4 separate regions of the Homo sapiens genome follow, and all the other regions are linked to region 2. Evidence: promoter capture Hi-C in human tissues and cell types (Jung and others, 2019). All regions are on one chromosome and are shown on one strand. Each heading gives the region's core, a stretch centred on a gene start or on the middle of the fragment in contact. The rest is flanking DNA. Distances are from core to core; before and after follow the strand shown.

What was found. The method cuts DNA at HindIII sites, captures the fragments that hold promoters and counts their contacts. A contact is called where the count stands out against the background at its distance.
Region 1: a contact is called between a fragment that was not itself captured here and the fragment with the promoter of SAP30 in region 2, in 2 of the 25 tissues and cell types used here (mesendoderm cells and thymus).
Region 3: a contact is called between a fragment that was not itself captured here and the fragment with the promoter of SAP30 in region 2, in 1 of the 25 tissues and cell types used here (lymphoblastoid cells).
Region 4: a fragment that was not itself captured here is called in contact with the fragment with the promoter of SAP30 in region 2 in 1 of the 25 tissues and cell types used here (lymphoblastoid cells).

The regions. Positions count from the first base shown.
Region 1 is chr4:172,979,578-172,984,793 of GRCh38, reverse strand. The region is part of intron 10 of GALNTL6 (polypeptide N-acetylgalactosaminyltransferase like 6); the gene reads right to left. Among named protein-coding and RNA genes, the nearest start is that of GALNT7, 190 kb to the left of the region's middle. RefSeq lists an enhancer at 2,182-2,441. The HindIII fragment of the contact is 4,686 bases long and covers 1-4,121 here.
Region 2 is chr4:173,366,592-173,372,607 of GRCh38, reverse strand. SAP30 (Sin3A associated protein 30) reads right to left here and starts at 1,654. Exons shown (of 4, transcript NM_003864.4): 1 at 1,111-1,654. The coding sequence starts at 1,425. SAP30-DT (SAP30 divergent transcript) reads left to right here and starts at 1,910. Exons shown (of 4, transcript NR_183973.1): 1 at 1,910-2,316; 2 at 2,998-3,174. RefSeq lists enhancers at 544-843, 547-1,110, 2,194-2,433, 4,899-4,968 and silencers at 964-1,343, 1,624-1,793. The HindIII fragment of the contact is 15,433 bases long and covers 1-6,016 here.
Region 3 is chr4:173,045,149-173,050,294 of GRCh38, reverse strand. No RefSeq gene overlaps it. Among named protein-coding and RNA genes, the nearest start is that of GALNT7, 120 kb to the left of the region's middle. The HindIII fragment of the contact is 3,478 bases long and covers 476-3,953 here.
Region 4 is chr4:172,924,821-172,930,662 of GRCh38, reverse strand. The region is part of intron 8 of GALNTL6 (polypeptide N-acetylgalactosaminyltransferase like 6); the gene reads right to left. Among named protein-coding and RNA genes, the nearest start is that of GALNTL6-AS1, 200 kb to the right of the region's middle. The HindIII fragment of the contact is 3,335 bases long and covers 1-3,173 here.

The DNA.
Region 1 (5,216 bases), core at 529-3,028, 390 kb after region 2:
TATTATTTTTATTAATTTCAATTTTAATTTTAGATTCAGTGGGTGCATGTGCAGGTTTCTTATAAGAGGATACTGCATGATACTGAGGTTTGGGCTTCTACTGATCCTGTCACCCAGACAGTGAACACAGTTCCCAGTAGGAAGTTTCCCAGGCTTTGCCGTCCTCGCCCCCTCCCTCCTTTCGGAGTCCCCAGTGTCTATTGTTTCCACACAGACTCTTTTTGAGAATCTGATGAAAGTTATGAACTCTCCAGAAGAAATGTACACTGCTATGGTTTGGCTCTGTGCTCCCCGCCCCCCAAAATATCACCTTGAATTGATTGTAATAATCCCCACATGTCAAGGGCAGGACCAGGTGGAGATAATGGAATCATGGGGGCGGTTTCCCCCAGGCTGTTCTTGTTATAGTGAGTGAGTTCTCCTGAGATCTGATGGTTTTATAAGGGGCTTCCTTCTTTGCTCAGCACTTATTCTCTCTCCTGCTGCCCTGTGAAGAGCTGCTTTCAGCCATGATTGTAAGTTTTCTGAGGCCTCTCCAGTCATGTGGAACTGTAAGTCCATTAAAGCTCTTTCCTTATAAATTACCCAGTCTAGTATGTCTGTATTAGCAATCTGAGAACGGACGAATACATACGCATATACAGACACAACAGTTGGCACACAAAGTATTTTTGCTTTCTATATCTGGTGGCCTAAGAACATTTTCATATGTTTGTTACATATATAGTTTTCTCCCCATCTCCCATTGCACAAACACATGGGAGCTTGATACTTATTTTTTGGAATGCAGAATGTGATATTTTGCCTATACCCCATGGACTTCAGTAAGCAAGAAAATGACTGTAGTTTTTAACCTTAAAAAAAAAAAAATCAACCGGGAGATGTCTCAGGCAAAAACAATGATTTTCCTGGACCTCTGGTTCTTATAAGCTTCGGCATTGTGTTGCCTCACTCCTCCATTTGTAATGCTAATCAGGGTTTTATTGAGAGTTTGCAGCGGTAGGCCCTATGCTACTTGCTTTCCATGATAATTTTATTTAACCATCACAACAACTCTAGAAGTAGGTACTATTATTATTCATATATATATATTTTTTTGAGACAGAGTTTTGCACTTGTTGTCCAGGCTGGAGTGCAATGGTGCAGTCTTGACTCACTGCAACCTCTGCCTCCTAGGTTCAAGTGACTCTCCTGCCTCAGCCTCCAGAGTAGCTGGTATTACAGGCATGTGCCACCACGCCCGGCTACTTTTTGTATTATTTGTAGAGACAAGGTTTCACCATGTTGGCCAGGCTGGTCTCAAACTCCTGACCTCAAATGATCTGCCTGCCTTGGCCTCCCAAAGTGCTGGGATTACAGGTGTGAGCCACCGCACCTGTCCATTATTCATATTTTGAATGAGGAAACAAGGTGTCTTAGTTTCCTGTGGCTGCTGGAACAAATGATCACAAACTTGGTGGCTGGAAATTATTATCTCACAGTTTTGGAGGCCAGAAGTCTGAAATCAAGCTGTCGGCAGGGCTGTGCTTCCTCCAGAAGCTCTAGGGGAGATTACGTTCTTTGCCTCTGGTGGCTGCCAGCATTCCTTGGCTTGTGGTGGCTTATGCAATCTCTGCCTTCCCTGAATGTCTCTTGCAAGGACTCTTTTTTTAAAAAAATGTATAAATTTATGGAGTGCATGTGCAATTTTGTTACATGCGTAGAATGTGTAGTGGTCAAGTCAGGGCTTTTAGGGAATCCATTGCCCAGATGAAGTACATTATACCCATTAACTAATTTCTCATCATCCACCTCCCTCCCACCCATTCACCCTTCTGAGTCTCCATTGTCTATTATTGCACTCTCTATATCCATATGTATACATTTTTTAGCACCTACTTATGAGTGAGAACATGTGATAGTTGACCCTCTGTGCCTGGCTACTTACAAAGACTCTTTTCATTGGATTTATACCTCATCTAGAAAATCTAGGATGATCTCATCTCAGATAAATATTTTTTGGAAAAAAAATTTTTTTCGTATTATCTTTTCATTCCATCTAAAAATATCTTATCTTTTTTTTTCCAGAAAAAGTCACATTCACATGTTCTTGAAATTAGGATTTGACATATCTTTTTGTGGGCTGCCATTCAACCTGCTAGACAATACATAGGTAATTTATAGTGAGTCAGTAGTAAACCTGGGATTCCAACCCCTTGTCTTGGGGCCTCAAGAGCTTGTGAAAGCCCCACACTAATTGTAGACTTCAGCATCTCTTCTGACTTTCAGTCATGAGGACCATTGTCTTATGTATAGACTGGCTGCTGGCTAACATGTCAGGGCCTGTTTTGATAGCAGTCTCAATTCTAGAGGAAATGTGAAGCTGACTCACACAAATAAACAAAGAAGCTTAGCCAGGGACAATAAAGCCAAAAATCACGTTAAGGGCACAGTTCCTCCCTCTAGTTTAGCTCCTTGGCTTTATTCTGGTGTGAGATGTCCCGTGGTGATTGAGTCATGGAGAGAGCAGAGGGAGGGCTCTGAGGAACCTGGGAAGCCTGCTGAGCTGCATTTGGGACCTGCCTGGGCAGAAGGGCAGTGAGCTTGTGGAAACATTTGGCTAAAATATTATTCATGCAGAAAGAAATTGAAGAAGGCATAAGTAGATGGAAAGATGTCTGTGTTCTTGGATCAAAAGACTTAATATTGTTAAGATGTTTGGCCGGGTGCGGTGGTTCATGCCTGTAATTCTAGTACTTTGGGAGGCCGAGGCAGGCAGATCACCTGAGGTCAGGAGTTCAAGACCAGTCTGACCAACATGGAGAAACCCCGTCTCTACTAAAAATACAAAATTAGCCAGGGTGGTGGCGCATGCCTGTAATCCCAGCTACTTGGGTGGCTGAGGCAGGAGAATCGCTTGAACCTGGGAGGCAGAGGTTGCGGTGAGCTATCACACTGCACTCCAGCCTGGGCAACAAGAGCGAAACTCCATCTAAAAAAAAAAAAAAAAAAAAAAAAGACGTTCATACTACTCAAAGCATTCTATAGATTTAATGCAAGTCCTATCAATATCTCAATGTTTTTTTAAGAAATATAAAAATTTATCCTTAAATTCCTATGGAATCTCAAGGGACCCAAAATAGCCAAAACAATCTTGAAAAGGAAGAACAAAGTCGAAAGGTTCACACTTCATGATTTCTAAGCTTACTATAGTGCTACAGTAATTAAAGCAGTATGGTACTTGCATAAAGACAGACATATAGACCAATAGAAACAGGCAAAAGATGTTTTAGACATCTCTCCAAAGAAGAAATACAAATGTTCAATAAATACATGAAAAGGTGTTTAACATCATTAGTCATTAGGGAAATGCAAATTAACACCACAGTGACATATCACTTCACATTCATTAGGATGGCTGTTAAAAAAACCCAGCAACAGTGGAAAACTACAAGTGTTGGCAAGTATGTGGAGAAATTGGAACCCTCGTGCACTGTTGGTAGGAATGCCAAATGGGGTAGCTGCTATGGAAGAAAAGTTTAACGTTTCCTCAAAAAAGTTAAACCCAGAATTACCATATGATGCAGCAATTCCACTACTAGGTGTATACCCAAAAGAATTGATAGCAAGGGCTTGAACAGATATTTATATGCCTATGTACACAGCAGCATTATTAAGCATAGCCTAAAGGTGGAAACAACCCAAGTGTCCATTGACAGATGGATGCATAAAGAAAATGTGGTATATACATTCAATGGAGTATTATTCAGCCTTAAAAAGAAACCAAGTTCTGATACATACAACGACATGGATGTTGTATGAAGACATTATGCTAAGCGAAATAAGCCAGTCTCTAAAGGAAATATATTGTGTGATTCTACTTATGTGAGGTACCTGAAACAGTCAAATTGATAGAAACAAAAGTAGAATGGAAGTTACTAGGAACTGGGGGAGAGTGAATAGGAAGTTATTGTTTAATGGTGTAATGGACTGAATTGTGCCCCTCTCTCCCCCCTGCCAGTTTATATGTTGAAGCCCTAACCGTCAATGTAAGTGTATTTGAAGATACGGCTTTTAGGAGGTAATTAAGCTAAATGAGGTCATAAGGATGGAGTCCTAATCTGATAAAACTGGCTTAACAACAAGAGGAAGGAAGAGGGGTCTTTTCCCCTCGCCCGCCAAACCCAGCATATGCACAACCATATGAACACACAGAGAGGAGGTGGCTATCTCCAAGGTGGGAAGACAGCCCTCGCGAGAACCTGACCTGACCATGCTAGCATCCTGATCTCAGAATTCCAGCCTCCAGGAGCAGTGACACAATAAATGTATGTTGTTTACGAGCCACCTACTATGTGGCACTGTGTTATAGCAGCCAGAGGTGACTAATAAAGATGGCTCTAGAGTTTCAGGCTGTGATGATAAAAAAAATTCTGGTGATGGATAGTGGTGCTGGTTGCACAACAATGTGAATGCATGCTAATGTCACTGTACTGGTATGCCACTGATTAAAATGGCAAATTTAAAGTTAGGTCTATATATAATACAAAAGTATCATACAGTGCCTATTTGGTAGTGATTGGGACAGTTGCTTTTGCTTTGTGTAAATCTGTGCAAGAGAAGAAACCAAGTTGTAGAGTCTGATGGGGACTAGCAGATCACATAAGGCAGGACCTAATTCCTTTTCTGTGAGGTGAAAGAAGTGGAGATGTAGTCAATACGGCCTCTGTGTAAACACAATTTTCTCAGTATATTTAGAGCTGACTCTATCTCACACCGATGAGGTGTTTCACCCTCATTTTATGCACAAGGAGAAAAGCTACAAAGACATATAGCATTATCTGTTTTTCCACGATGGTGCATAATTGTCTTAGGAGAGATAACAACTGGAAATTCCCAAAAGGACAGGGATTACTTCAAATTGCGGGGAGGACATTAGAAAGTGGTAAGCATTCTTGTTTTTATTTTACCCCTCTATTCCTGCTTCATCTGAGATTGTCCCTTTCAATGCATGCTGTCTTCTTGAGAAACTAACCAAGATTGGTTTTTCAAAGTGTAGTTCAAGTAGTTAACAGCCAAGCTTTCCAGTGGTAGGTGTCAACCAGTGTTTAAGAACCAAGCAGGGTAACTCAAAGGGCTCCTAAAGCCAGGTGAATATTTGAATGAGCTGGAAGATATAAAACCAATCTGCTTTTAAATTCCATAAGCAATTTTATAGTTCACTTGGGGAGACAGGA
Region 2 (6,016 bases), core at 405-2,904:
TCCAGATACAAAACCATTCGTTTTCACAAATGAGCCATCGACTTCAAAACTATATTTAAATTTCAGTTATACATTTTTCTGAATATTAAATCAATGTATTTATCTATAACACATTTTTCCAAAACAATCTGAAATTATGCAAGTTCACCTGAAGAGTTTCTCATGGATAACACTGAAAACTGTTTAAACGGGCAAAAAGTGTCACAAATAAACTTTTCAAAAACTTTAATTACATATACTCCTGCGAGCTGTAGACTAGCATTTGAAACAAACACGGACTGAGCTAACAGGCTTTTACATTTACTTCTAAGCCAAGCGCAAGATAAAAATATGCAGGACTTGTGGTAGGTTCTCGATACCATGTTATTCATTTACCGCTAGCCAGATCTCCCAAAAGTAGCAACGGCTGTTTCTAAAAACCTCATAGATGGTCAAACGAAAAGACGTGCAAAAAATCCTGATGGCTGCCAAGGGGATGGCAAAACCGCAGAGGCTACGTGCTCCCCACCATCGGAGTAGCTGCCCTCGGAGCTGACAGCGCAAACGCCGTTTACAACCCCGGCTCACTGCCAGGCGGCGGGTGAGCTCGGCTTCCCTCTCACTCCGCTCCGGAGGAGACGGAACACAGAAAAGAACAGGATCTTCCTTGTTCGTGAAGGTCCTCCGCTTTCTCCTAGACGACGGGATTTAGTACCGCCTGGGGCCAAACACCAGCTTGGGCAGCAAAACAAAGGCGCCTCCATTCCAGAAGAGCTGCCGGGCTGCAAGAAAACTACTCTGGGCCCTCAGTGCGCCGGTCCCCTTTGTTTCGTGTCCCGGTCGCAGAGGAGAAGGAAGAGGGAAGACTGCGCGGGAGAGACGCAGGCAGCGGGAGGTTGGGGGCCAGGGTGGGAAAGAAGAGGGGAACGACAGCCTGTGTGTGGTGTGTGTGTTGGGGTGGCGGTAGGAGTTGCAGCGACTTTGTTATTTGCTTCCAAACACAGACTCCACGAGACCGCACTGCAGCCAGTGCGGTTGTCTGGGGGACCCCGCCGACAACCCGTGCCTTTGCCCGGCTCCTGGGGCCCCACCGAGGGGCGGGAGGGCAGGGCGGTCCCGCGGTTTACTTACGCTCTTATCCAGCTCGATCTTCACCTTCTTCTGGGAGATGCTCTTCTGGATCCTCTTGCTGAAGCTGGCGTTGCCTGCCGCCCGGCCGCACCGCTCACCATCCTCCCGCAGGCAGCACAGTTGCCCGGGGCCCGGCCCGGCCGCCCCCGGGGGCCCAGCCGCTGAGACCGCCCCCGCGCCCGGCACCTCAGCCCCGGTGCCCGCGCCGGTCCCGTTCCCCGCCGAGGCGGCGGCGGCCGCGGCAGCGACCACTGCGGCCACTGCGGCGGCCGCATCCCCGCCGCGGCTCATCTCGTCAGGCGTGAAGCCGTTCATGTCTCCGAGCTCCCGAGGCCGGCGCTGACAGAAATCCCCTCTCTCCTGGCCGCTCCGCCTCTCTCCGCTCCGGCAGCGGCAATTCACTCTGCACACCAAGTTAGACAGCGGCACGGCCAAACACCAACTGTCCCGGGCCTGCTGGTCTCTGCTGGCACCGAAACAGTGGACAGTGCTGAGGGCCGGGACGCAGACTCGAGCGTCTCCTGGAGCGGGGACCCCGCTCACTGTCACATGGGGACTTCAGCAGTTGGACCGCTACGCCTCCGCCTCCCTCCGGCCCCGGGACCTGCGCAAGCGCGACGCGCCCCCTCCCGTCCCGCCCCTTTCTTTCTGCCGCGCGGCCCCATGGGAATTGTAGTTCTCTGCTGCAGAGTCAACCTGAGCTCCGCCCTGACCCCGCGCCATGAGGGACGGAGGAACTACTAATCCTAGCATGCATAGCGCGGCCACGGACCCACTTTTTTTTTTTTTTTTTTTTTTCAGTACCGGGAAAACAGGAGCGTGTGATTGGGGTTTACAGTGTTTTCTCTCGCTCTCTCTGTTTCTAGGGAATTCGGGCTGTGTTTAGCTGCTGGAATATCGTAGAATTGGTTTTCAGAGAAGTTCCTCGACTCCTGAGGCGAAACATAAAGGGATGGGAGTGGTGTGGGAAGTGATCGTGTGGGGAAAAAAAAGTTTCGAGCCCGTTTCGCATTTGTGGAGACAGAGTTTTTGGTGTGACCACTCTTTTGTGGGAAACCCAAACCAAGGAGAACTCAGGAGAATTGGCGCTCTTCGGTCCTGGAGGTTCCGCAGCTAACATCCCGGCTTGACCAACTATCGAGGCCGCAAATTAATAGGGCACCTCCTGGGAGGAAAACGCCCATCCTGACTTCTCAACTGTGACAGGTCCCCCTCACAAACGCCTTGCGGGGGGGTGGGGGGGCGTTTCTAAACACTTGCATGTTCTTACAAGGGAAATGTTTTTATTCTTGGGCGCACCAAGTTGGCCGCCTCCTGAGGTGGAGTACGGACCAGTTGACAACAGGGCTCCTTTTCACCTCCACGCCCAACCTTTTCCATTTCTCCTCAAACGGTTTTGGAGAAGGGCGGAGTCATATCATTTTAAAGGAAACTTGGAACCTCACCAATACAAACGCTGGTCGAATGTTCCCAGAAACTTCCCTGCATTAGCTCTACCGGGCGCGGGGAGCAGAAAGCGCATTTCCTGAGTCCTGAAAAGCGCGTGCGCGCCTGTGTGCTGCCGGCGTTTGGGCGCGCCTGCTTGTATGTATGTGTTCGCGGGCGCGCGCGTGTGTACGTGTGTGTGCGCGCGTACGCGTGTATGTTCCTGCGCGCTTGCGGGGACGTGCTTGTGGAGGGCGGAGAGAGGGATGGGCGTGGCTAATATGAAAGCTGCATCTTTACTAGTTAGCTACCATGCGTCATTATTTATCAAAAGATATATGCTGCTTAAACACAAATACGTTTTAAAATATATTTTAGGCAGTAGGGTTTTGGGTTTTTTTTTTGCAAGTTCTTTTGGTGAGTAAATTTAGTGATAAATGATTTTTTTTTCTTTTGAGACAGTTTGCTCTGTCGCCCAGGATGGAGTGCAGTGCAGTGGCGCGATCCTGCAACCTCCGCCTCTCGAGTTCAAGCGATTCTCCTGCCTCAGCCTCCCGAGTAGCTGGGATTACAGACGCGCGCCACCCCACCCAGATGATCTTTTTAAATGCAAAATGCCATCGACGCAGAAAATCAAAGGTATCCATTGTATCTGTGCGTTTGAGTTCTAGGATATGACAAAGAAAAACAATTTAAATATTACGTAAATTCAGTAGGAAAAAGAAAGATGATGACTGATAAGTACATTGTGTACCTCCTTAAGCTGTGCTGTCCAGTAGGCTGTCCTCTAGCCATATGTGGCTACTCAGCACTTGAAATGTGGTTGAGACGGAAAAACTGAATCGTTAATTGAATTTGAATTAAACAAAAACCAAAAACCTGATGCTCGATTCAATTGTTGGAATACTTTTAAGTGTGTTTGCAACAACTCAGATATATGAATCTGTTTTTCCAACTTAAATTTTATGAACTCTAACTTTAGCATATGAATTGAGATGTGCTGTAAGTATATATCAGCTGGACTTTTTTTTTATTTCTGGACTTACTACAAGAAATTTTCAAAAAGAATATTGAAGTGCACATTAAAAATTTTTATATATGTTTAAATGTTTTGGATGTAATGGGTTAAACAAAATATTACAATAAATTGTACCTGTTGCATTAGATAACACTGGCTTAAAGTATTACAACACAGTAGGGCGTGGTGGCTCACGCCTGTAATCCCAGCACTTTGGGAGGCCGAGGAGGGTGGATCATCTGAAGTCAGGAGTTCGAGACCAGCCTGGCCAACATGGTGAAACTCCGTCTCTATTAAAAATACAAAAATTAGGCAGGCATGGTGACACAAGCCTGGGGTTCCAGCTACTTGGGAGGCTGAGGGAGGAGAATTGCTTGAACCCAGGAGGCAGAGGTTGCAGTGACCTGAGATTGCACCACTGCACTCCAGCCTGAGCAACAGAGCGAGACCCTGTCTCAAAAAAAAAAAAAAATTACAACACAGAATAATTATATATTTATGGATACATGTTATATATTTATGGATACATTTTCTTAAGTGGTAAAAATGAGAATATATGGATGGGATGATACATCCCAACTTCAGGGTGATGCTCATCTCCAACGAAGGAGGCCAAGGAATTTGTATATGGTGTCAGAGTAAACATAAAATATAAAGAGATGAATTTCTAAATTTAATGGTTTTTTGGGGAAGCAAGAATTGCAGTTCAGGACATACACACAGACTGAGTGGTCTTTAGTATGTCAGAAGAACAAAGAGAAGGTCGAGAGTTTTATTAGAAAGAGAAATGTTGCTACTGTTTTGAAAGAAGGTTCATTGGCACTATAGTAAAGTTTTGGGAAGCTGGCAAGCTCTGATTGGTGAGTGAGAGTGGTAGATAAAACCAGTCTTAGTCATAGGAGATTGTTTCAGCAACTACTCGGTAAAACTGGTCTTAGAGTTACTGCAGGCCGTTTCAGCAGCTGGGTTGTAAAAAACTTAATTCTTAATGCTAGAGCTGTGTGCCCTGATTGCTTTCTCCCCTGGTCCCTCGATTCTGATTTAGTTGGGTATGACAAGAATGATCCAGATTGTATGATCAATTTTCACACTGGGAATGGCTTAAAGATGGTTTCTTCTGAATTTTAAAGTTTTTATTTATTAAAAATATCTGAAACATGACAGTGGGATGTTGAATTTTCATATTTTTCTTTGTACATTTATGTGTTTTTAAAATAGTTCATGAAATTCATATTGTTTGGTTCTTGTGCTTAAAAAAGCTTATATCTTCTGCAAAATGTGACCAAATCATGTAAATTCAGTAGGAAAAAGAAAGATGCTTACTGATAAGTACTTTGTGAATCTCCTTAAGCTGTGCATGTATGTATATGTATAGTTATCAGTTTCATATGAAGCTTACTCAAGTAAAGAACTGTAGCTATGGCTCCTTTACACACAATACAATGGTTGTAAAAAGATCCTATTAAACAGTCACTTGTTGCATGCTAGAATCTTTTTCTAGGCCCTGGAGGCACAAAAATAATTGAGAGGGTCCTAGCTATTTGGGAGCTTCTTGTCTAGTAGGGCAGACAGGTAGCTTAACAAGCACATAATACAAACCTCAATAACAATAGAGAGAAAGTACAGGCATAGCACATAGGAGGAAATGATTCATTTCTGGCAAGTTGAAAAGATTGCTGGAGTAGGGGACATGTTAATTCTCACTGCCAGATTTAAAGTGTATCTTGAGTGAATCTATTTGTTTAGATACATTTTTACAACCATGTTTTGTTACTTATTTCTACAAATCTTCATATTTAGGGCAGGTATAAGAACTCTTTGATTTGAGTGTAACTCACAGTCAAGGTTGGAATCAGGTTTTAGGGGGGCTTCAAGATTATATAATCTGAAAGGTCTTTTTAAAGAAGTATGTAAAATTATGAATGCAAAATTAAAATTAGGTACAGGACTTCATAAGGGTCTATCCAAGTGAGGGACTCTGAAGTTTGAATCCTTTAGCTTCACAGTAAATCTACCTCAGAGTAGACTAGGTAAAAAATATAGATCTATGAAACCTTAATTATAGGGGGGTTGTTCATATCAACAAAAATGCTCTTTGCTTTCTAAAATGGTTCAAAATATGATTCTTAAAAAAGTATGTATCCGTGCCTGTCTTCCCTATAGGCTTTTAACATGATTGCATTTTTCTGGCTTTACTTTAAAATAAGCAACTAAATAATTTTATTTAATTTACAAAAACATATAAATTGGCCAATAATCCCAACATGACCACAGTAGAAAATTCAAATAATACAAAAAGGTTCATATGAAAAACAAAAGCCTGTTTTACCTCATCTCCTCAAATCCCTGTCCCTTGAAGCAACCAGTGTTAACAGATTATTGTTTCCTTCTAGAAAAAAGTATGCATTTACTAGTATATACATCTCTATATGTGAATAATTCTATATTTTACAGCAAAAGTTC
Region 3 (5,146 bases), core at 965-3,464, 320 kb after region 2:
CTATTCTTGGTCTTCAAATTCTGTGATCCTGCTTTAAAGAATTTATAGGAGAAACTTTCTTCCAGCTATAAATATTTATTGGATTAAATTAACGCTTGTTTGAATTTTGAGTGTGTTGGGGTTTTATCATTTCCAATAGATGCCTCTTAAATATAACTAAGGCTTTCTAAACACATGTAACATTAACAAAATTATCTTTAAGAAGATATTTTCGAAGTGGTGAGACCATTGGTCTGAACCAATAGCTTTCAAAATGTGGACTCCAAATGTGGTCCAAATGTGGACCATCGGCATCAGCATCATCTAGCAACATGTTGGAAATGTAAATTCTTGAGCCTCATTTCCATCACTAAGGGGTGGCCCAGCAATCTGTGTTTTAACATTACCTCCAGGTGTTTAAACACTAAGGTTCAATGATCACTGACCTAACAAAAGCCAGAGGATTTTTGAAATAAAATGTTCTTAGGCATGTTTCTCTCAATGCAAATTTATAATAGCTTCGGATTACAACTGATCATTCTTCCAGACATCTGCAGTGTTTATTTGTGAACAACCATGTCAGAGAATTAACTTGGATTTGCTAGTGGTAGGAAATTAGGAACTGGGGCACAAAGCAATTATTTATCTCTTTGATAATAGAATTTTCTGTATCTAGTGGCCTAACCCAGAAATTCTGATATAGTAGATTTGGGGTAAGACCTGGTGCTATATTCTAAATGTTTGTGTCCCTACCCCCCAAATTTATATATTGAAATCCTGACCTCCACAGTGATGGTATTAGGAGGGAGACCTTTTAGGAAGTGATGAGGTCATGAAGGCAGAGCTTTCATAATTGGGATTAGTGCCCTTAAGAAAGAGGCCCCTGAGAGCTCCCTTGCCCCTTTCACTATGTGAGGCCACAGTGAGAAGATGTGATCTTTATTTAAACCAGAAACTGGGGCCTCAGCAGACACTGAATCTGCCTGCTCCTCCATCTTGGACTTCCCAGCCTCCAGAACTGTAAGAAATACATTCCTATTATCTGTAAGTTACCCAGTGTATGATATTTTGTTAAAGCAGCCCAAACGGACCAAAATGCCTAGTAATACACATGTTTAACTTGTACCCTCAGAAGAGAAAAACTGCCAGAGAGAATTCACATCAGTGCAGACCGAGAGTCTCAGATGGCTAAGAGATGTGCCTGACAACTTTTCAGAAATAAGACTATTAAAAGAAGGTCAGCTTGGAGTCTTACTGCGAAGTGAGTGCAAATTCTTTGCTTAATGACTGTTTTCCTCTCCCTGAGGACTGAACCCATTGATAATTACCAAGAACACAGTATTTGCTTTTGGATTTGTCATCTAGAGCTATGCAAATAGCTTTAATAGATCACTTCTTTTCTTAAAAGTACCTTAGAAATCTCATTAAGAAGGACTAATCCTGGATTCAGTTCTTACTTTAATAAGCTTGTGGGAAAATCAACAAAAACACACAGGTACAGAGAAGAACAAACATAATTAAGGGGTTAAAAACAGAAGTCCCTAAGGAATGAGTGATCTTGCTATTTTGAGGTACCTCCATACAACTCATATGGGCTTTGCTCTGGGTGAATGACCCTGTAGTGAGGTATAAACTACCATGGAGAATGGAAGGAACAGAGGTCTACATATTAGAAGGCCTGAATCTATCTAGTCCTGATTCTGCTGTTAACTTGCTAGCCCCTTGCAAGCCCCTTAACTCTGAGTCCTTCAGTTTTTTTCATGAGGATTATAATATTATCTACACCAGAGATTGTTATAAGTGTGGAGTGAGATAATACATATAAAATTGCTTAGAAAAACAAAAGCAATAATGCAAATAGCATGTCCACCCATCATCTATCTACCATCTATCTATCTATCTATCTATCTATCATCTATCTATCTACACCTTACCATAATATTGAGAATTAATAGTGTGGTTAATAGGCCATGTTGGCGATCTACTGTTTTGAGCTTGAAAAAATATAAAATGACTGCATTGATTTCAAATAAATTTTTTAAATTATGAAAAAATCATTTAAATTAGACTTCATTCAGCAAAGAGATTTAGGTGGATATAGAACTCTTGATTACAAAGCTTTCATTAAGTAACTTGTAAAGACCCGTGTGAATGCAATACACAGTCATCAAGAAGCTGATTTTGGTCTGGTCCTGTTTGAAGGGAAGGAATAAGTCGAGTTGATTTCTTGTAGACTGTAAGCCTTAATAAGCAAAATACATTTTCTTTCCTACAGGAATTATAAACAGGCACGTGGATTATAAATAGGGTGAGTATTTAATTCGTTACTGAAACTAGAACACTTTTAAGAGTAAAAGGGGCCAGGCATGGTGGTGCGCACCTGTAACCCCAGCACTTTGGGAAGCCAAGGCGAGAAGATCACCCGAGCCCTGGAGTTTGAGGTTGCAGTGAACTAAGATTGCACCACTGCACTCCAGCCTGGGCGACAGAGCAAGACCCTGTCTCTAAAAAATAAAAACAGGCTGGCATGCAGTGACTCAGGTCTGTAATCCCAGCACTTTGGGAGGCCAAGGTAGGTGGATCACTTGGGGTCAGGAATTCGAGACTAGCCTGGTCAACATGGTGAGACCATGTCTCTACTAAAAATATAAAAATTAGTGAAGTGTGGTGGCACATGCCTGTAATTCCAGCTACTCGGGAGGCTGAGGCACAAGAATTGCTTGAACCTGGGAGGCAGAGGCTGCAGTCAGCCAAGATTGCACCACTTCTCTCCAGCCTGCGTGACAGAGCAAGACTCCCTCTCAAAAATAATAAAAGTAAAAATTTAAAAAAACAGTAAAAGGGGCATTATTAAAAATCACACAGGACAAAAATCATACGCATAAAGTAACATAGGTAAACCCAGCACCTAAGCTGTTTAGTTATGAATAGCCCCCTCAAGGTGAGTAAAGTCAGAATAAACTCATCGACAAAAAGATTCTGAAATATAACCAGCCTTTCTGTACTGAGGTCAGTTGGAGAACCACGTTGAAATGAGCAAAGAAGGACAGCAGAGGCCTGTGGAAAGCCCAGGAAGCTATTGTGCTTTGGGAAGAAGCAGGCAACTTCAGGCAGCAGGGATGGAAGAAATGTTTCCAGGTTTCTCTGAAGTGAAGCATCAAACATGTGCCTGAGCTGTTGTCTGCCAAGAGGCTGCAGTACCAGACACACCAGTCTGGTATGTCAAGCTCAGAGATGAGTGACTATGAATAAAAGCTTCAGGTCAATGTCAAGTCTACCAAATAGAGTTGCAAACAGCTCCCAGTTCTGCAAGCAAAGGCTATAGACATAAATCAAAGAGCAATCTTCCAATGTCGGCAGTGTGGGAAAGACTGGCCACTTGTCACGCTTCAGTGTCCTCGGCCACCGTTTCACACATGGAGAGTAATTACAGTTGGTGGTGTCATCTGAGAGGAATGATGGCAGGAGCAGGACTGGTCGATGAGGTGAAGGGAGAGAATGAAGCATGCCCCATGTTGAGAGATACAATTTACTTATCTCCATTTATATGTACTCCCAGAATCATAGGGAATCACTTAAAAATATTTTCCCTTTGAGGCATTCTTTCTCATGATTTATAAGAAATGCTTTATTTCCAGCATATCTCCAGCATGTGTTTATGGAAGCGCGTTGCAGCCTCATAATCCTGCCAGGGTAACAAGCCTAAAGACATTTTACTAAATGAGTTTTTAGGGATAAATCAATGTTCACAATGTCATATTGTTAGGATGATTCTAAATTCTGAAAAAATATAACCTAGCACTCTTCTTCAGGGGAGGGTCAGGTGAACTGCCTAGTTCTGGGGGAGATTCTGCAGTAAGACAAGAAGTCAAAGGCACATCTGGCATAGCCTTATCATCAACTTTCTTCTGAGTCCTTAGGTGTGTGATATCCTGGGCCAAGAATGTCCCACAGTGGCAGGTGTGGCCCTCTATGACTGCTGGATAGCCAGCTTTGTAATCAAAGTGTGATTGAATTTTTTTTTTTTTTTTTAAAGACAGGATCTCACTGTCACCTAGGCTGGAGTGCAGTGGTGCGATCATGGCTCACTGCAGCCTCAACCTCCTGGGCTCAAGTGATCCTCCCGCCTCAGCCTCCCCAGTAGCTGGGATTATAGGCATGTGTTATGACACCCAGCTAATTTTTTTTATTTTTTGTAGAGGCGAGGTTTCATTATGTTGCCCAGGCTGATCTTGAACTCCTGGGCTCAAGTGATCCTCCCACCTTGGCTTCCCACAGTGCTGGGATTATAGGTGTGAGCCACTGCGCCTGGGGCGCTAACTCTTTTGATAGGTCAGCCATAAACTTCATAGAGCTTATTTTTCCAAGAAAGCATTCTTTTTTACTATTTCCTTATGGAGATATTTATAAAAAGATAGAAATAAAAGTTTTTCATCTGAGAGGAAGAAGCACAAAATATTAATAGGTATTTACTTATTTATATTTGGCTTCTTTTAAAACATTGCTCCTAAAGGAAATGATGTCAAGTGTTGGCATGGGTTTCATGTTTTCCAAGAAACATGAGAAGAACGGGCCTAACACACTCTTTCATTGCTTGTAGGTCCATTTTCATTTTCTGTTATTCATTTATTGCATAAAGTTTTAGGTTATCAATTCATAAAGCAATTCTGGAACTTGCATTACTCCCTGAAGCTTCTGATATAGTGAATACTTTTAAAAACAGTTATGTGATCATATTAATGTTTTTAAGTAAATACCAGTGGACATAGAAGCCAATACATTGCTATTGCCAGGGTATTAATCCAGCCTTGAAAAAAGTGTAAGTCCTATGTTTAGTTCATGATTGCTTTAAAGCACAGCTTTTTCTTTGTAAATACATAAAAAAGATTTTAAAAATTAATTATTCTGGCAAAACCATGTCTTATGATGGAGAAGTAGCAATTTCCAAGGCCAGATTATGATTTTTCCTCCCATTCTGATAAAAGGGTAGGTCAGTACTCTACTGTCCAATTTATTTTTATTTATTATTATTATTTTTTTGAGACAGAGTCTTGCTCTGTCGCCAGGCTGGAATGCAGTGGCACGATCTCGGCTCACTGCAACCTCTGCCTCCTGGGTTCAAATGATTCTCCTGCTTCAGCCTCCCTAGTAGCTGGGACTACAGGTG
Region 4 (5,842 bases), core at 257-2,756, 440 kb after region 2:
AAATCCTGTTTCCATAGACAACATGTTGGCTTAAGAAAAATTCTAGTAAAATTTTGTTACAAATATTGTATTGAACCCACATTTCATGCTTAGACATCTTATTTATATAGATATTTGTTTCAATAATCTTGTAAAATCATTTGAAGAAATAACATTTGAAATTAAAATGCCAATTTAAAAATTTAACATATAAAAAGTGAAATTTTAAAAATAGGTGAATGCTTTAAAGAACACAAGCATATCATACCTTTTAAGTTGCATTCTGAAACTTGCAACAGTGCTAACCTTAAAAATCAGAGTTGCATTCTCATTTCTCCCCCCGCCACTGATCTTTTTCTTAGGTACAGAAAATAATCAGTTAAGATGCTGTACTTTTTTTTTTTTGAGATGGAGTTTCACTCTTGTTGCCTAGGTTGGAGTGCAATGGTGTGATCTCAGCTCACTGAAACTTCTGCCTCCTGTGTTCAGGCAATTCTCCTGCCTCAGCCTCCCAAGTGGCTGAGATTATAGGTGCCCGCTACCACGCTGAGCTAATTTTTTGTATTTTTAGTAGAGGCGAGGTTTCACCATGTTGGCCAGGCTGGTCTTGAACTCCTGACCTCAGGTGATCCGCCCACCTCGGCCTCCTAAAGTGTTGGGATTACAGGCGTGAGCCACCGCACCTGGCCCTAGATGCTGTACTTTTATATTTAGTAACAAAAGTCATGGTTATATTTTACCATGACAACCTTCTCAGACAGACGCACACTTAATTGTGGTTTTATATAACAGATCTTCTATTATAAAAGAACTAATTATCAAAACATAAATCCAGGCTTCATATAGGCTATAGTCTTAGCTATTTTTATTGTAAGATAAATGATTATAAAAAGAGATACTCTGATGGTTAATTTTATGAATCAACTTGGCTGGACCATGGCGCCCAGATATTTGGTCAAACACTATTCTGGATCTTTCTGTGAAGGTGTTTTTTGCATTCCATTAACATTTGAAATCAGTGGACTTTGAGTAAAGTGAATTACCTTCCATGATGTCGATGGGCCTCATCCAATTGGATGAAGGTGTTAATAGAACAAAGTCTGACCTCTACTGAGCAAGAAGGAATTCTGCCAGCAGAATCCCTGAGTCTCCAGCTTGCCCACCTACTCTGAAGATTGTGGACTTACCAAGCTTCCACAATCGTGTGGACCAATTCCTTAAAATTAATCTCTCTCTTCCCTTGGTTTGGTTTCTCTGGAGACCCCTGAGTAATACAGATACATATCTTGATTTGAAGTGTAATATTGAAAGAGAGAAAGAGAAATGCTTATGTTTTCCTTTATATTTGCTTCCAACTTCTTTCACTAAGAGGAATGTCACCCAAGCGAGAATGGTTGAACAAATGGTGATTAAGGTCAATGGAAGTCCAGGAAGGAATAAGTGCAATTATTAAAGCAACATTCAGTTGCTGTAATTGAGTTCAGGATTACTCATAGTATTAATTTCAACTTGATGGGATATTTAGTAACGATTTGGATCAAGCCTTCAGAAATATGTGTGGGTAATATAAAGCTGGTAAGGGCAGTGGACAGTCTAAACTACATTATCAACATATGGAAAGATCTCCACAGGCTGGAGCTCTATAACATTGAACATAAAAAGGCAACAATAAACACCTGTCCCAGGATCTTAAGAAATCAACTCTTCCACAGCAGGAAGTGTGGAAAAAGACTGAGTAGCACAAAACACACATCATTAACATACTATGGAGAATTTAGGGACCAACGATCTAGATCTATCTGCAGGCCTGAAGTCTTTTGCTAATTTCTGGATAAATGCTTTATATTTCCTTCTAAGGGGAATTTTAAAGTTGAAAAGTGATGTGAACTCTGTCTTAGGAGAGGCAATTGAAAGAACTAAAGATGTGTAGTTCTGATAAGATAAAATTCAGAGATAGCCTTTTCAAAGAACCCAATATTTGGAAGAGATGTTTTGTAGAGCCTTTAGGAGATAGAACCAGGATTAATTGCATATAGCTGTAAGGGGGCAGATTTCAACCTAGTAGGAAGAAATTTCTAATAAAATGATTAAAGATAGAATGGACTTCCTGTATCACTAGATGTGTTGAAATCTGCAGCAGATGACACTGGAGATAAACATATGACTCAAATGGACATTTGATCTAGCTGATAATTTAAGGCAATTCTACAGCACAAGTTAGCATTTATGAATGCTAATTATGCCCTTTTCATTAATTATTTCATGTAATGCTCACAATTCAATGACAGACTTTACTGTTTCCCCAATTATGAAGGTGGGAAAATGGCAGCCTAGAGATGCTAAGTAGCTTGTTCAAAGCCACATAACTGGCCACTTCCAGAACTGAGATTTGAAAACCTAGTAGTCTAACTTCAGTGTCCACGTGTTTAATTGATATTGTATCTATAGATTATGCAAACTCTTTCTGTAAAGGGCCAGAAAATAAATACTTTTGCCTTTGTAGGTCATATGGTATCTTTTGGAACTCCTCAAATCTGCTAACAAATAGGCATGGTGTATTTCAGTTAAACCTTGCTTACCAAAACTGGCAGTGGACTATTGTTTGCTGGCTCTTGTTCTATAAAGAAATTAATCCTTTCAAACACTAACTTTCAGTGATTCTAAGATAATGTATGTGGGAGATTATAGTTTCCAAAATTAGACACCACAATATCTTCCATTGCACATACCCCTCTGCAATGTGACCTCGGTAACCAACTTTCCATTAGGGGATCGGTCTATGTCTCCTCTCTTTGAATTAGGGTGGGCTTATGAATTCTTAGACCAGTAGAGTACAACAGAAGTGGTTGAAGATAGGTCATAAAAGGCCACATAGCCTGTCCTCTGGGGCATTTGTTTTTGAAACTCTGGGCTTCCATGTGAGAAATTTGACTCTCTGAGGCTACTCCATTGTGAAAAAGTCCAAGGACCTGAGATGTCATGCATTGGGTAAATACCTTTACTTGGGGTTTTAACTGATGACCAACATTAGCTGCCAGCACTGTGAATAAAGATGCCTCTACGTGATTCCAGCCCCTTGCTGCTGAATCATCCCCCCGAGACTCCATATATCACAGAGCAGAAACAAACTATCTCCTCTGTGCCTTTTTTTGAATTTGCGGCCCACAAAATCCAAAAGCTTAATAAAACAGTTGCTTTATGGTGCTAAGCTTTGTTATGCAACAGTAGTAATTGGAACTACATATTTCTAAATCCATGATAAAGGTGAATTACTAACACCGATAACCAAAATTTATGGATCACTCATAGATTTCATCTTATTCTATTGTACGGGATACAGAGCTAGGACTCAGCAATTTCCATGCTCACTTCCTCCTGGGCACACAGCCAAGTTATAATTCCCAGCTCCTTTGTATTTAGATGTGACTATGTAATTGTTTCTTGACAGTGAAATGCAAATGGAAGTGATGTGCATCACCTCTGGGCCAAAGAAATTACAAGTGGACTACTTTCTCTACCTTATTTATAATATATTTTTCCCTCAGAGCCTGAGTAATTGCAGAAGATACAGAGGAGGATTCTGAGGCCCTAGCAGATGGTAGAATCATTAAATGGATGGGGACGGGGTTGCTGAAAACTGGGTGAAGCATTGCTCATGCCTCCTCCTCCAAATTGTGAGACAAGCAATAGAAAATTCTTATTAATGTTAAATTACCAAGATTTTGGATTTATTATAGATGTTGTTCCACCCTAATGAACAGTCATTTTTTTCTCAGCCTCTTCTGATATTTTTAATCAAATTTAGTGACTGTAATTATTTGAGAGATTACTTTAATTCTTACTCCTGCATTTTAAAGAGGTAGAATTTAAAAGTAATTAGACAGCAGGTGTTAGGGTGGGAAATGGGAGGGAGGAGAATGCTGGATAGTCCAGTGTATAATCAAATGTCAGTGCTTATTGGTCAAAGATAAGCAAATGTCAAGGCAAAGAAACTTTCTTATCATCTGCAGCTGGGAGATAGGAATTTGTTGGCACAGCCTTTTGTTTTTCACAAAAAAGTGACAATATTGATTAGCTTGTGGAGGTGGCCAATCTTTCCTGCAGGACTAGGAGATGGTGATAAGTGAGGACAAGATGTGGGGTCAAGGTCTGGAACAATGCCTTACATTTTCTGGCCTTAACCTATTCTTCACTTAATGTTATCTTGTAAAATACTTACAAAGTGAGCAGAAGTGAACTAAATGCATCTTAGGAGAGTATTTGCGGAATGAAAAGTGCCGTAATAGAAAGTTCAATAAATCATTATTGCTTTCTGTTATGGATTGAATGTTTGTATCCATCCACCCTATCAAATTCAAATGTTGAAATTTTAATCTCCAATGTGGTGGTATTCAGAGGTAGGGTCCTTGGGAGGTGATTAAGTTATGAGGGTAGAGTTCTCAAGGATAGAATTAGTGAACTAGTAAAAGAGACCCCAGAGAGCTCTCTCATGGTCTTTCCACCATGTGAAGATACAATGAGTAGTTGGCAGTCTGCAACCTGGTAGAGGGCCCTCTCCAGAACCCAACAATGCTGGCACTCTGATATCAGACTTGCAGCATCCAGAACAGTGAGAAATAAATTTCTGTTATTTATAAGCCACTCAGTCTGTAGCACTTTGCTATAGCAGCCCAAATGGGTAAGTAAGACTCTTTCCTTCTTAAGATATAGCAAAACAACCTAATAAACACACAGTAATAAAATTTCAACTAATTATTCTCAGAGGGTCACTCTAACATGGTGTTTACAGATGTACGTGCATAACAGATGACCACATACTTAGTTGTTTAAAACAACATACATTTACTGTATCACAGTTCTGTAGGTCAGGAGTCCATGAGGGCTCAACAAGGTTCTCCATCAAGGGTCTCACAAGGCTGAAGTCTAGGTGTCTGCTGGGTGGAGCTCTTACCTGGAGCCTCAGGGGAAGAATCTGCTTTCAAGTTTACTTAGGTTATTGACAGAATTCAGTTTGCAATTATGGGACTGAGATCCCCATTTTCTTGATGGCTGCTGACTGGGGACCATTCTCAGCTTATCGACACCATTTTTAGTTCCTTGCTTCACAGACCTTCCATCCCAGCAGTGGTTAAACTCATGTGACTAGATGAGGCCTACCTTGATTACCTCCTCTTCTTAAAGTGAACTGATTGATAATTACGTTTGCCAAATCTCTTTTACCATGTAACGTTGACATACTCATGTGAGTAAACCAAGGAAGAGAGTCATCTTAGAGTTCTGTTACTACCATTTCCAAGGACTCAAAATTCATGTCTTCTATCGATAACCTCATCCTGGTTCTTAAAATTCTTCCCCTCAGAAGTTTCTCTGTGTAGTTAAGTCAAATTCAAGAAACTTCTGGGCAGACTTTTTAAATTCTAAATTCAGTGTTGAGAAAACTATAGAATCCTGCGATTTATTTTTTTTTCCTTCTTACGGCCCCATGATCACTTTAAAAAAAAAAAAAAACATAAGCCTGGTGCGGTGGCTCATGCCTGTAATCCCAGCACTTTGGGAGGCCAAGGTGGGTGGATCACGAGGTCAGGAGATTGAGACCATCCTGGCTAACACAGTGAAACCCCGTCTCTACTAAAAATACAAAAAAATTAGCCGGGCGTGGTGGCAGGCACCTGTAGTCCCAGGTACTCGGGAGGCTGAGGCAGGAGAATGGCGTGAACCCGGGAGGTGGAGCTTGCAGTGAGCCGAGATCGCGCCACTGCACTCTAGCCTGGCGACAGAGCCAAACTCTGTCTCGAAAAAACAAAAAACAAAACAGTAAAAAACATAAATCTGAGCATACCATTCCTCTATCAAAATCCTTCAG